2 separate regions of the Homo sapiens genome follow, and region 2 is linked to region 1. Evidence: promoter capture Hi-C in human tissues and cell types (Jung and others, 2019). All regions are on one chromosome and are shown on one strand. The core of a region is centred on a gene start or on the middle of the fragment in contact, and the rest is flanking DNA. Distances in the headings are between cores, read along the strand shown. Region 1 holds the start of MAMDC2 (MAM domain containing 2). Region 2 overlaps MAMDC2 (MAM domain containing 2).

Region 1 (6,792 bases), core at 1,850-4,349:
CCTCCCTTCCATGGCACTGATCCCAAGGTACTCCTGATTAAACACCCTGCACATTAAACTTCAAATCAGAGTCTGCTTCCCAGACATTCTAACTTGTGCCAATGTCTAAGGATCATATATTCTTGGGATCAAACAATTATATGCAAAATAGAAAATTTGGTCTGAGTTTGTACTTATGTATGATTCTGTTCCCATAGGTGGCAATACACAATGTCACGTTAAGGTTGTAAATCATATTTTAAATTTTGGAAGGATCTCTTTAGGGCTTTGAAGTTTTTCATTTTCCTATGACTTAGAACATACGACATGAATCTAAGGCAATTCTAAAACTTTGAAATACTCCTTAAGTATCTGGAAAAAGGAGCACCAGTTTGATTGTTGCTGAAAACTTCTTTAGTTGAAAATAATGTTTTGAGGTTTCGACTGAATGTATAACTGTCTTTGAATTTTTAGTTAAGTAGTGTGATGAAATTCATCAGATATTTAGCACCATCTGTGATCAAGAAGTCAAAAAAAAAAAGAATATAAGACCCAAGTGAGAGAAGTCCTGTACTGGTTGAGAAAATAGGCTTTTGGAATAAAGCAGATCTGGGTTTGAGTTTTGTCTCTACTGTCCACAGTCACTGAACTCTGTGCCTCAGTTTCCCCATCTATTAAATGGGGATAATGAACATATTTATCCTGTAGAGATTTTGTGAAGCTTAAATGAGATTATCTACATAAAACATTTATAATGGTAAACACAATAAATGTTATTATTAGCTACTACCTGAGGCAAAGCATATAAATAAAAAAAGATACATATACACCAAATAGCACACACTAATGAATAAATTTTTGACCATTTGAATCATTGTTTACAGAAAACACATGAAAATTTGTTCCTACCTTTAAAAAAGGATTCCAGATATATTTTCCTTATTAGGGAGAAGGTTACTAATTTTCTAATACTGAAAGTGACATCTGAGTGAAGACCTCATTAGGCGGTGAGTTGTGTGGCTCTTTGTGGAAGAGCATTTTGAGCAGAAAGAACAGCCAGTGCAAAATTCTGAAAGGATAGCTGGACTGTGTTTGAGGATCAGCCAAGAGGTCTGTGTGGCTAGAGAAGAGTAAGCAGGGTGATTGAAGTCAGAGAAATAAGAGGGTGGGGCTGGGTGCAGTGGCTCACGCCTGTAATCGCAGCACTTCGGGAGTCCGAGGCAGGTGGATCATGATGTCAAGAGATTGAAACCATCCTGGCCAACATGGTGAAACCCTGTCTCTACTAAAAATACAAAAATTAGCTGGGCGTGGTGTCACACGCCTGTAATCCCAGCTACTTGGGAGGCTGAGGCAGGAGAATTGCTTGAACCTGGGAGGTGGACTTTGCAGTGAACAGAGATCGCACTCCAGCCTGGTGACAGGGTGGGATTCTGTCTCAAAAAAAGAAAAAGAAGGAAAGCAAGAAAAGAAAGAAAAGGGTGGAGCAGGTCCTATAGGGCCTGGTTGGTCATCGTGAAGACTTTGGACTTTACTAAATGACTTGGGAACTTGTTGGGTCTTGAGCTAAGGAGTGACATGGCCCAATTTCTGTATTAAAAGGATAACCCTGACTAGTGTGTTCAGAATAGAGTAGGGTGGGCAGGGCAGAAAATGAAGGGAGACCGTGGTCAGGAGGCCACTGCGGTATCCCAGGTTGATGGCAAGGGCAGCTTGGACCAACCAAGGCATCACCACCATGGGCACAGAGCATGGTCAGCATCTGCTGTGTTTTGAATCCTGAGCTGATAGAAATTGGCAATGTCTGACAGGAACGGATGAGCTGAAGATGCCTCCAAGTTTTCTCTCCTGAACAACTGGAGGAAAATAGTTCTTTTACTGAGATGAGGAAGACACAGGGGACGGGCAGGTTTGGCAAGAAATATGCAGCCTTCATGTTGGGACCTGTTAAGTATGAAATAGCTCTGAAGCATCCGATTGGAAATGTTGAGGTGGCAATGAGATCGAAGAGTCTGGCGTTAGTGAGTAGTCTGGGTTAGAAATATAAATGTGGGAGTTATCAGGCTATCATTGGTATCTAAAACTATGAGACTTGAGGACAGCATTGAGGGGCTGGATAGAGAAAGAAACAGGAGTGACAGGGAAGAACTTGGAGGCACTCTCATGTTAAGGGGTTACAGAGGTAACGCAAAGAGGCCGAGAAGCGGCGGCCAATGAAAGACCAGGAAACCCAGCGGTCTGGAAGCCAGGTGAAGGCATGGGAGCAGGTTGAACTGATGGCTCAACTGGAGTTTGTTAGGCCAGTGGTCCTCAAAGTATTGTTCCAAACCCGCTGCGGCAGCAGCAGCCTCTGGAAACTTATTAGGGACGTGCAGCCTCTCAGGCCCACTCCAGAGCTACTGGATCGGAAACGGAGGGTGAGGCCCTTCAGCAGATTCTGATGCACCCTCAGGTTTTAAAACCACTGCCCTCCTCACAAAATTGCCTGCACAAAATTATAAATGGGAGAAAGGAGGAGGAGGAGGAGGAAGAGGAGGGGAGGAAGAAGAACTCTTTACAAGAAAAGAATATTGTTGGAGACCCACTTAGTGCCCAAAGCAAACAGCTTCCTCAGAAGTAACTCCCTCCCCAACAACCCCCTCCCAGTGTAAAGCCTCCCATTAATCAATCTATCATGGCTCTTTGGAGAGAAGGAATGCCCCCATTTCACCGGACGGAGGGAATGCTGAGCACCAGGCATGCCAGACATTCCACCGGCTAAAAAAAGTGGGGGTGGTATTCCAGGGTTAGCATTGCTGGACCGTAAACGCTGAAACTCCTTAGATATAAAGCTTATTCCACCCAACCGTTTCCAAATTTTCCTCCAGGCTGTCCTTGGAGAATTCCACCCTCTTTCATTCTGGGGAGAAGAAGTTAAAATTAGGGCCAGCCCTGCGGGACTGACATGCCAGATGCAGGGAAGCTGTCCCCAGAAATAAGCGAGTTCCCACCGCGGCTGGGCGGGGCGGGAGCCTCGGGTCCCAACCCAGCGGAGGGACTCCTGGAAGGCCTGCCCCTTCCAAGTGTCTGCAAGGGCTCTGGTCCCAAGCTTTAAAATCCTGAGCGAAGGCACTGCGGGCCGACCTCTCCTCTCCCAGCCAGTCGTGGCTGGCCTTTCAAAGTGTGCAGTTGTCTCCTCCCTGTCCAGCCCCATCGTCGCCCAGGACCAGCTGGGCCGCGGTCTGACCTGAGGCTGCTGCTCAGCGCCGGGGCGCTGGCGCTCTCCATTCGAGCACCTTCCAGCATACCGCTCGGCTCCGGGAGCCGCTCTGCAAAGTTGGGCAGCTCAGAGCGCAAGCTTTGCCTCTCGACTTCTCCCTCCTTGGGTCCCCGGCGCCCCCGCCTCCCACGATCCCTTTCACTAGGAGCAGCCAGTCCCAGCGGGCTGGCAACTTGCACCCCTTCCTAGTCATCCTCCCTGAAACGCGACCATGCTGTTAAGGGGCGTCCTCCTGGCGTTGCAAGGTAAGGCCTGGACCCCGGGACAACCCCGGGGGCGCTCTGACGACTCGCCCCCGCTCCTGCTGCCCCCGGGGGTCCGGCTCACCGTGCTGGGCTGGGCCATCCGAGGGCGCCTCCTGATCCTCCGCAGCCGCTAACTCCCTCCCCTGGCCAAGCCTGGGGTGGGGGTGGGGGTGGGCGTGGGGTCGCTCAGTGGAGGCGCCCGGGGATGCTGGGGGACAGGTACTGCATCCCTCTCCCGCCCCCTCCCGCTCGTCTTTCCCCCACTTTCACCAGGTAGTCCCCCTGGGGCTCCCCGAGTTGGTGCAAAGGCTCCTGGGTGGAGCTCGAACTGAAACTCGCTTTGTGCCCGCAGCCCTGCAGCTCGCCGGTGCCCTCGACCTGCCCGCTGGGTCCTGTGCCTTTGAAGAGAGCACTTGCGGCTTTGACTCCGTGTTGGCCTCTCTGCCGTGGATTTTAAATGAGGAAGGTAAGGAGGCTCGGTGGAGAGGGGCGCGAAGTGAACTTTCTTCCTTGATGGCTTGCTTTTTTTTCCCACATGGGTAATGTTATCTTGGAGTTAATTCTCCGCGGCAAGAAAAGTGTGAGTCATGGATCCTCCTTCAAGCCCTCAGCTGTGCTGCAAGGGATGGCCGAGGCAGGAACGGGGCGGGCGGGAGGCCGCCCTTTGTTTACCTGGCCTATGGGTAGAAGCTTAAAATTTGCGTCTCACCCCAGCACTCCTTAATGGAAGGGAGAAACGGAGCACAGCTAATGATTGTTCTCCGCTGTGGGCCTCTGCAGGCACACCAGCTGTGTGCCTCTGCAGGCCAGCAACCTTTCTGGTCCTCAGGAGACATGTCTGTGAGTTGGGAAAAGTTGCATGGGACTAGTTCTCCTTCAGCTTTGCAGAAATGGTTCCACAATTCTGTGATGGGACGTCAGTGCTAAGACATCACGTCTGCCTTGACCCTGACAGTGTTTTTTGCTGCATGATTTCATCCTCACACTCCTGTTTGTAATCCTGCCCTGGACAAAAGAAACCATGTACACTGCCAAATGCCTGGGGTCCCTGTCTCACTGGTGGTCATTGTCTTACTACTCTATACTGTTTGGGTCCCAAGGACAAAGTTTAAATGTGGGGTCTTCTGAAGTGTCATCTTGCCTTTATATAGTTTTTTTTGTTTTTTGTTTTAAAGTGTGGTTCTCAGTACCCAATGGCAGGCGGCACTGGGTGTCCCTTCTTTCCTTTCTCTCTCTTTTGTCACCACCAGTGAAGCCTGATGCCCACAGACTATTTGGATTGGAAAATAGCCTTCTTTAAAAAACATGGTACCCTAGATGAAACCAGCTCACCTCCTTCCCCACTCAATTGTCCTCAGGCCGCAGATCCTCCCACCTCGCTCCCTGGGGGAGGATGGAGCCCGGAACCCCTGGTTAGATGTATGAACTGTCACCACAGCTCACTCTGCCCCAGGCTTCTACTCAGGGTTCTGCATACATTAGCTTCTCTGACCCTCACAGGTAGGTGATGTTGGACCCGTTTTACAGAGGAAGGAATCTCAGCCATAGAATATTCAAATGGCTAGTCCATATCACAGTGTCACTGAGTGGCTAACTCTGAGTGTCTAGTTAGGAAGAAACAGGAAGGAACTGGTTCAGTAGTAATCTCCATCTTTATCCAACAATTGCCAAGTCTTGACTACTACAGTCTACTTAGGGGTGGCTGGGAAAAAGCAATTCTTGATTTATTATTCGAGGGATTCCTATCTTGCTGATGGCTTTAGGAAAGTCTCTGTAATCTTGCCACTCACCCTTTCCCTATACTGGCTGTATGGAAGCATTGCGGGAGATGGCCTTAGAAATGCCACGAGACTGGCTTTGGAGAGCACACTCCTCCAGCACGGGGCTTCTCAAACCTCAGCTGCATCAGAATCACCTGGTGGGCTTGTAAGACACAGATTGCTGGGCCCCACTTCCTGAGTGTCTGATTCAGGGGGCCTGAGAATTTCTAACAAGTTCCCAGGTGATGCTGATGATGCTGGTCTCGGGACTACACTTTGAGAACTGCCGACTTCCACAGTCTGTGTACACACACACACAACCTGTGCTGTTGTTGGCTCTGAGTAGGTCTGGCACTAGGGTGAAGGAGCTACTTGCAGGACCCGAGAGTGAACAGCTACTTAAGTCTTGTTCCCTAAGCACTTGGCTTGCCTCATCCTAGTGCTGGCCCTGAGAAAAGGAAATCAACATCATTCCTTAAGCCAGGAGCCTTAGTTAGTCTCTGAGTTCCTGCCTCCGGCCCTCTGTCAGGATGGGGGCCCCCTCACAGCCTGCCTCTGGTCAGTGGGCATGCCACAGCCTGCTGAACACAACTGCCTCCCAGACCCACAGGAAGTCTCTCTGCTGAGTTGGCACCTCTGCCCCAGGACAGCAGTTAAACCATCCCCCTTCAGGGAAAACAGGAAGATGCTTATAGAAAAAGGTGATTACAGTTTAATAGTATAACGAAGGCACTGTGGCTTTGCTTTCTGCATTCTTTCTAACAACCACTGCTTTCTGGCTCAGGACTGGGACTACTGGGTTGGCTGGCGGAAGTTAATTCATTCTCCTCTGAGCACTCCAGGGTGGAGCAGGCAGGTTAGGCTCCAGTTGTTCCAGCTTCAGTTTGTCAAAGGCCAGAACTTGGACGTAACAGTGTACTGCAGGCTCCAGGGCAGTGAGGTAGGTGTGTGGCAGTTGCTGTGGTTGCCTAAGAAGACATCGCTAAGAATTTCCCTTATAAGCCCATTTCTAGGTTGGTAAATTAAAGATAATAAAATTCTTCCAGGCTGAAATTTGGCAAGCTGTTCACAAGCTTCTCTGCAAATGCACTTCTTCCTGCAGAAACCCTTTGAAACTGGTTCCATGGTTCCATTCACCTTCATGTACTGGATCCACCATGGAAAGTAGTGGGTTTCAGAGACTTTTGCCCACATGCACTTCTTTTTTTTTTTTTCTTTAAGTTCTGGGATACATGTGCAGAATGTGCAGGTTTGTTACACAGGTATAAATGTGAATGGTGGTTTGCTGCACCTATCATCCCGTCATCTAGGTTTTAAGCCCCGCATGCTTTAGGTATTTGTCCTAATACTCTCCCTCCCCTTGCGCCCCACCCCCAACAGGCCCCGGTGTGTGAAGTTCCCCTCCTTGTGTCCGTGTGTTCTCATTGTTCAACTCCCACTTATGAGTGAGAACATGAGGTGTTTGGTTTTCTGTTCCTGTGTTAGTTTGCTGAGAATGATGGCTTCCAGCTTCATCCATGTCCCTGCAAAGGACATAAACTCACTCTTT
Region 2 (6,073 bases), core at 2,538-5,037, 80 kb after region 1:
GCTTCTGGCTGCTTCAGAGTTGGGAGGCAATGGGCAGGGTGGGGATGGAACAGAAAGGCAAAGGCTAGGGACAAAAGGTTTCACTTGCCTCTTGCTATTTAATCTAGAGTTGATGACCTTCATACAGCACATGGCCAAATTCTGGCATTCCTGTCATGGCCAATGGGGGATCCCACTTTAGTGTTGACAGACAGGGATGAGCAACTCTCTGGCTGACCATCTGTGAATCCTGCTTAGCTCATATAAGTCACGGTATGCCCTACCAGCTCCCTTCTAATGGAATTACCGCACTGGTAGGCAGTTCTCTTGAGAAGAGTCCTTTTAAGGTACTGTAGCCCAGCTGCCTTCTAAATTGCCCCCTCAAACTCTGGAAGTGCATTTCACTGGCAACAAACTCCTTTTTCTCTACTCTTCCCCTACGGGTCCCTATAGTCAGTTTTTTGCCTTTAGATGTATGCACCAGTGCCAGGCTCCATCTCTGCATCACACACACACACTCCAGTATCACTGATCAACCTTTTTCAAGAACTCTGATTACTTTCATCTCAAGGTCCAGAGCAACTGCAGAGCTCAGAAATTTCTGCTCAAAAGGGAGGGGATGAGGTTACATGGCAGTTTCCTTCCTCTACCTCTTCCATGAGTGGTTCGCTTAAGCCCCCTCCTTTAGATCAAGGTAAGAAAAGGGAAGCAATCCCCTTGCCTTCCCTGGAGAGGTCAAAAGGAAACACATAGCAGGGCAGCTCTAACCCAACTCTTTATAGAAACCCCATCTCCAATCTCTCTGATTCATCTCGAGCCTTCTCATATGCACAGGCTACAAGGGAGAGATGGGCTAACACTTGTAGAGCTGGGGTAGGTGCCAGGGGCTGCCACTTAACATATTGACAGTCTAGCACCACTCTTTAGAAAATAGAGGTTGTTGTCACTTATTGTTTGGGGCTTTGAGGTCTTAGCACAGATAGGAGAAGTCTCACGTAATATTCATTCATGCTTACGTCATCCTTGAAAGCTGTATAAAAAGACTAGAGTCTGACTTTATCATAGTAAGGGCCACCAAAACCCTTACAACTAAAGGCTTGTGAAGATAACTGTCAGACTCATAGGGTGGAAAAACATGCATCATAACTCATTATCTTTGGGTGCCGTCTGCTCACCATGGCAGCAGACCAGTGGGTATTTCCCTCTGGCATACATCTCTTCAGACCAGGTTGTCTGCCCTACTGGGGAGACAGCTTGTCCAGACAACCAGCAACACTGGAGCAGACAACACAACTGGAGTGCAAATGTGGCCAGCAGGGCGCATCACAGCTGAGTCAGAGGATGCCTCTGGCACCGCGGCCAAGCCAAGGGCAGTCTTAGGGGAATGCTGGTGAGCCAGACTGCTTGAAAATAAACATTCAGGAACCGCCTTTAAAGTTCTTTCCCTAATGCAAGGGGAAATGGCTGACTACCAGGGGCCACTGGTTCCACATGAAAAGTTCAGCTAATACAGAGGGCTGCTGCAAGAAAGGAACAGACAGCCTCTTCAGGAGCAAGTGTGCATACACCAGCACTGCAGGCTCCATCCCAGAAGGGGCCTGAGCACTGGCAGCATGACTGAGAACTGTGATCTTTCTTTCAACTGAATTTGAATTTTTTTTTTGCCTAGAAACCTCAGGCTCTTTGTGTATAATCCAGAATTAGGTAATAATAGATTGATTTTCACTCTGTGTATGGCAAAGCAGAACAGATTGTAGAGGAATGGCAATAAGCTTCTCAATTCTTAATCTTATGGGGGAACCCATTTCCCCCATATAACCTCTTTCGTTTTCAGTTCAAGTTGTAATACTTTAGAATCTCTGTGGCCTGCAGGGTATCCAGTGATTTGGCAGATTAAAGGATTCTGTCTACTTAAAGTCCATCTATACCTAGTTTCATCCTACTTGAATCTTAACGATCTGACAAAGGAAAAAAAAAAAAAAGCCTTTTCCAGAGGTTCTGGAAGCTCTAGAGCCCTATGCCAGATAGGAGTGTTGGGTTCATTGAACTAGGCAGGAAGATTCTCCTAATATCAGACACTGGACAAAATTTTCCAAGAACTCCAGGCTACCATCATTGTTTTTAGAAAGGAGAATACAATGGCACCTGCAGCCACCTACCCATTGACTCCTCTTCCTCAGAACAGATTGTATCTGATGACACACTCAGCCTGGTTTGGCTGTCATTCCTCCAGCCTCTTCTCCTGGGGCAGACACCTGAATGACAATTTCTGAATCACCCCTAACAGTTCAACTGAGATAGTAAACTCATGATGAGCTACCTTTTGTTCCCCAATGAGAAGCTTAATGTTGCTCAAATTGTCAGTAAATAGAACCCAGCTTTGGCAACAAATGAATGATGGAAAGAAAAAGGGTACAAGAGCATGCGGTCTAGTCTGGTGGTTCTGTATGAGACTTAGTGTCAGCAGTCTTGGTCTTATTCCCAGCAGCCTCTCTGACTCACTTTGGGCAGATCATGTTGTGTTTTCTGGATGCTTTTTGGATCAGAAATGTGACTGTGGTTCACTTGGCCTAGCATCCTGAGCACAAGTTGCTAGTGAGGCACTTTGGCTGCAAATGCACAAAATATTGTCCACACAGCAGGTGAGTTACTACCCTTTAAAGACAACTCTCAGATGTCCGTCATCTGCAAGGAAGATGAATTTACAACAAGGCTGGCTGTGGAAGCTGACACTAAGCTGGGACTAGGTGGGAAAGAGATTTCCTGGGAGAGATGGCTATGAAGGCTCTGAGGAGAAAGGAGCCAGAGTAGCTGGGGACAGGCCCAGTGTCCTTATGGGGCACAGCAGCCATAGTGCCTAGGAGCCATGGCATTTTTAGGGGTCCATGACAATATTTTAATTTTATTTATTTGAAAATTGGAAGGGTAAAATGAATATAATAATTTCTAGCCTACATCATATACCTCTTTATGCCAATGTAGTAATAAACTAAAATGTTAAGATTATTTTATTTATTTTTATTTTTTTTATGGAGGAATGAGCCCACAAAAGTCATAAAGATGCCCTGGGTAGGGAAAACTTTCAGCTCAGGACGCAAACCTGACCCCTGAGGAAGAGGAGAACCTGGGCCGATGGGAGCTGCTGAAGGGCCCCATGGCAGACAGAATGGCCTGCCCCTCTGCTATGCTTGGTCACTGCCTGGGAGCAGCCCAGAGTGGTGTGGTCTTGGTACAAACTCTCCTGCAGGTCCAAAGGTGAGGTGGCTGGAGACCCAGTCAATGATGGTTCCTTCAGCAAGTTCTCTTAAAGGGGATCTCTGTGGCCCCTGCAATTAGGTATCCAGGAAACAAAGTATTACACATACATTATAATACAAAGAATTGTAGCTCTCCTCCACTCAGTTCTCCCTGCTCATATCTCACAAAAAGATTCTGTTTCATTGGTAAGTCATGTTACAAAGAGCAATGAAGACTTCATCTCTGTCTTTGATATTCACATGAGTTCTTAGAGAACAGAAGCAGATTACAGAAGCTAACTGGTCATAGGCATTCTCCACTACTAGAATGTTCTCGTCAAGGCTTGCTGGCCACCAGGAGTGCTTTAGAGGGTTTCCAAGCTTGGGATATGGAGGAGTGACCTTCCCTCCATATCAGAGGTTCTTTGATTCTATCCAGTCTGTCATTCCGATTCTTCCTTTAAAATTCCTGCCCAGAGGTGGCAAAGTGGAGCCAACAGTGGTTTCCAGCCTGCAGATATGTTTATTTGGCGCATACAAAGTTTAAAAAAATATGGTGGGGAGTGTTAGGCGTTGAATTGTGCACAGTCAAAATTCAAATGTTGAAGTCCTAACCCCCAGGACTTAGAATGTGACCTTGCTTGGACATAGATGGGTGCAGAGGTCATTAGCTAAGATGAGGTCATGCTGGAGTAGGGTGGGCCTCCAATCCAATATGACCGCAGTCCTTATTAAAAGGGGAACTTTGGGCACAGAGAGAAATGTACACAGGGAGAATGCCATGTAAAGATAAAGGCAGAGGCCTTCAAGCCAAGGAATGCCAAAGATTGCCAGCACACCACCAGAAGCCGGGAGAGAGGCCCAGAACAAATCCTTCCCTCACGGCCCTGAGAAGGAACAATCCCTGCTGACACCTTGATCCTTGACTTCTGGACTCCAGAACTGTGAGGCAATACATGTGTGTTGCTGAAGCCTCCCACTTTGCAGTATTTTGTGACAGCAGCCCTAGCAAACCACACAGGAAGCATCCCTTAAAAATGGATAGATTTGCCGTGAAAACCTGAATTCCAGGCTAGGATGGGGAAAGCCTGCAGCATGGGGCTGGGTGCCGGGCATCCGCTGCAGTAGACCCTGCTCTCTCAGGGAGGCTGGAGAACATGGGGGTGAGGGGCCAGGCTTCTCACCCCAAGCCGGTTATTGCCGCATAAGAATATGGGCCTAGGACTATCAGATGTTTTTATTTTTCCAGATAAGCTTGATTTCTGTTTCTCGATGTGGGGGAAATATGATTTCAAATACTGGCTACTAATTTACCACTCTCTATTTTCTCCCTGACTCAATCAACTTCACTCATACACTTAATCTGGCTGCCTCCTCTGAGAATTTGAGTTTGTAATCTCTGTTTATTCACTGTTGTGTGGTTTGGCAAAACGATAAGGTAAACTATATTCAAAGAAGATTATTCAGGGGATTCAGGATGTTGAACAACTTGCCACCAGGAGAAAGTGAGCTTTGACCTGTCCATTTTTCCCTTCTGCCATGTTGAGATGAGGACCTTTCTGAGACCATGTCTGTACATTAAATAACCATGTGTTGAGAGCCCACCACATACCGGGCTATGTACTAGATACACAGTAAATGTCCAGTGTATAAATGCATATGCTCCTCCTAATATTTGTTTCTGCTCTGCTCTTCATAATGGAGAAAAGGTATTCTTTATTTCCTTATTTTATTTTTTGGAGACAGGGTCTTGCTTATCACCCAGGCTGGAGTACAGTGGTGTGATCATAGCTTACTGCAACCTTGAACTCATAGGCTCAAGTGATTCTCCTGCCTCAGCCTCCCTAATAGCTAAGACCAGAGGTGCATGCTACCATGCCCAGCTAATTTTAAGAAAGCTTTTCTGTAGAGACAGGGGTCTCACTATGTTGCCCAGGCTGGTCTCAAGTTCCTGGCCTCAAGCAATGCTCCCGCCTCAGCCTCCCAAAGTGTTGGGATTACAGGCATGAGTCACTGCACCTGGCCAGGAATTCTTATTAACCAGAAATTATGTCATGGAAATGAAGATATTAAGCTGTAATTATTCTGAGCTTGTAAACAGAAAGGGCATTCTGTTGAAGCTGCATTGAATAGCACTTCTTTGTCATCACTCAAATGAATTCAGAAAAAATTGCTAACAATGATAGCTTACCCTTTATACAAAACAGGCTATAGGGCAAGCATGGTTCTAGAATTGTGAATGGCGTTGTAATTGTTAGACAGCTACAATGTACCAGGCACACGCTAAGCACTTTACATACATGACTCCATGTAATATTCATTGCCTCTATGAGGAAAGTATTTGATTGTCATTCTAGAGATCAGGAAATTGAGACCCAGACATACTCAGAAACTTGTTCAAGGTCACAGGGCTAGTAAGAAGTGGAGCAGGATTCAACCTCATTTCTCTTCAATGCTAAGTCAAGGCTGTCTCCATTCTGCCACATGGTTTCTGTGTTTCACCAAGATGCCCCTAATGGAGGCCAGCCTCTGGGTCCAGAGCCCACAAAGACCTGCCAAGAGTGGTACCACACATTCACTCCTCCAAATTTCAGTGTCGATTGACTTGCATGCTATTAACAACACACAAATTGCCATATAGTTGGAATTCAAAATCTTAGTTTCACTCAAAAAACACATGGTGACATCTTGCATTAATTGTAAACATGTGCAGGAGGGTCTCTCCATGCCCTTTTAAGAATAGATGGTAAGCTTTGTCTTTGTGTGCTCTTCAGAGTCTTATGACTCAAATAAGGATTGGGAGGGAGTGGCTTCTCAGGTAATGTTCTATTTCTCTCCATGGGTGTGTTCAGCTTGTG

The links. The method cuts DNA at HindIII sites, captures the fragments that hold promoters and counts their contacts. A contact is called where the count stands out against the background at its distance.
Region 2: a fragment that was not itself captured here is called in contact with the fragment with the promoter of MAMDC2 in region 1 in 2 of the 25 tissues and cell types used here (dorsolateral prefrontal cortex and spleen).

What each region holds. Positions count from the first base shown.
Region 1 is chr9:70,040,749-70,047,540 of GRCh38, forward strand. MAMDC2 (MAM domain containing 2) reads left to right here and starts at 3,100. Exons shown (of 14, transcript NM_153267.5): 1 at 3,100-3,483; 2 at 3,836-3,949. The coding sequence starts at 3,450. It overlaps LOC124902179 (a long non-coding RNA gene), which reads right to left and starts at 3,293. Exons shown (of 2, transcript XR_007061571.1): 1 at 3,206-3,293. RefSeq lists a silencer at 3,085-3,379. The HindIII fragment of the contact is 1,989 bases long and covers 1,756-3,744 here.
Region 2 is chr9:70,119,771-70,125,843 of GRCh38, forward strand. The region is part of intron 5 of MAMDC2 (MAM domain containing 2); the gene reads left to right. Among named protein-coding and RNA genes, the nearest start is that of MAMDC2-AS1, 53 kb to the right of the region's middle. The HindIII fragment of the contact is 3,504 bases long and covers 2,036-5,539 here.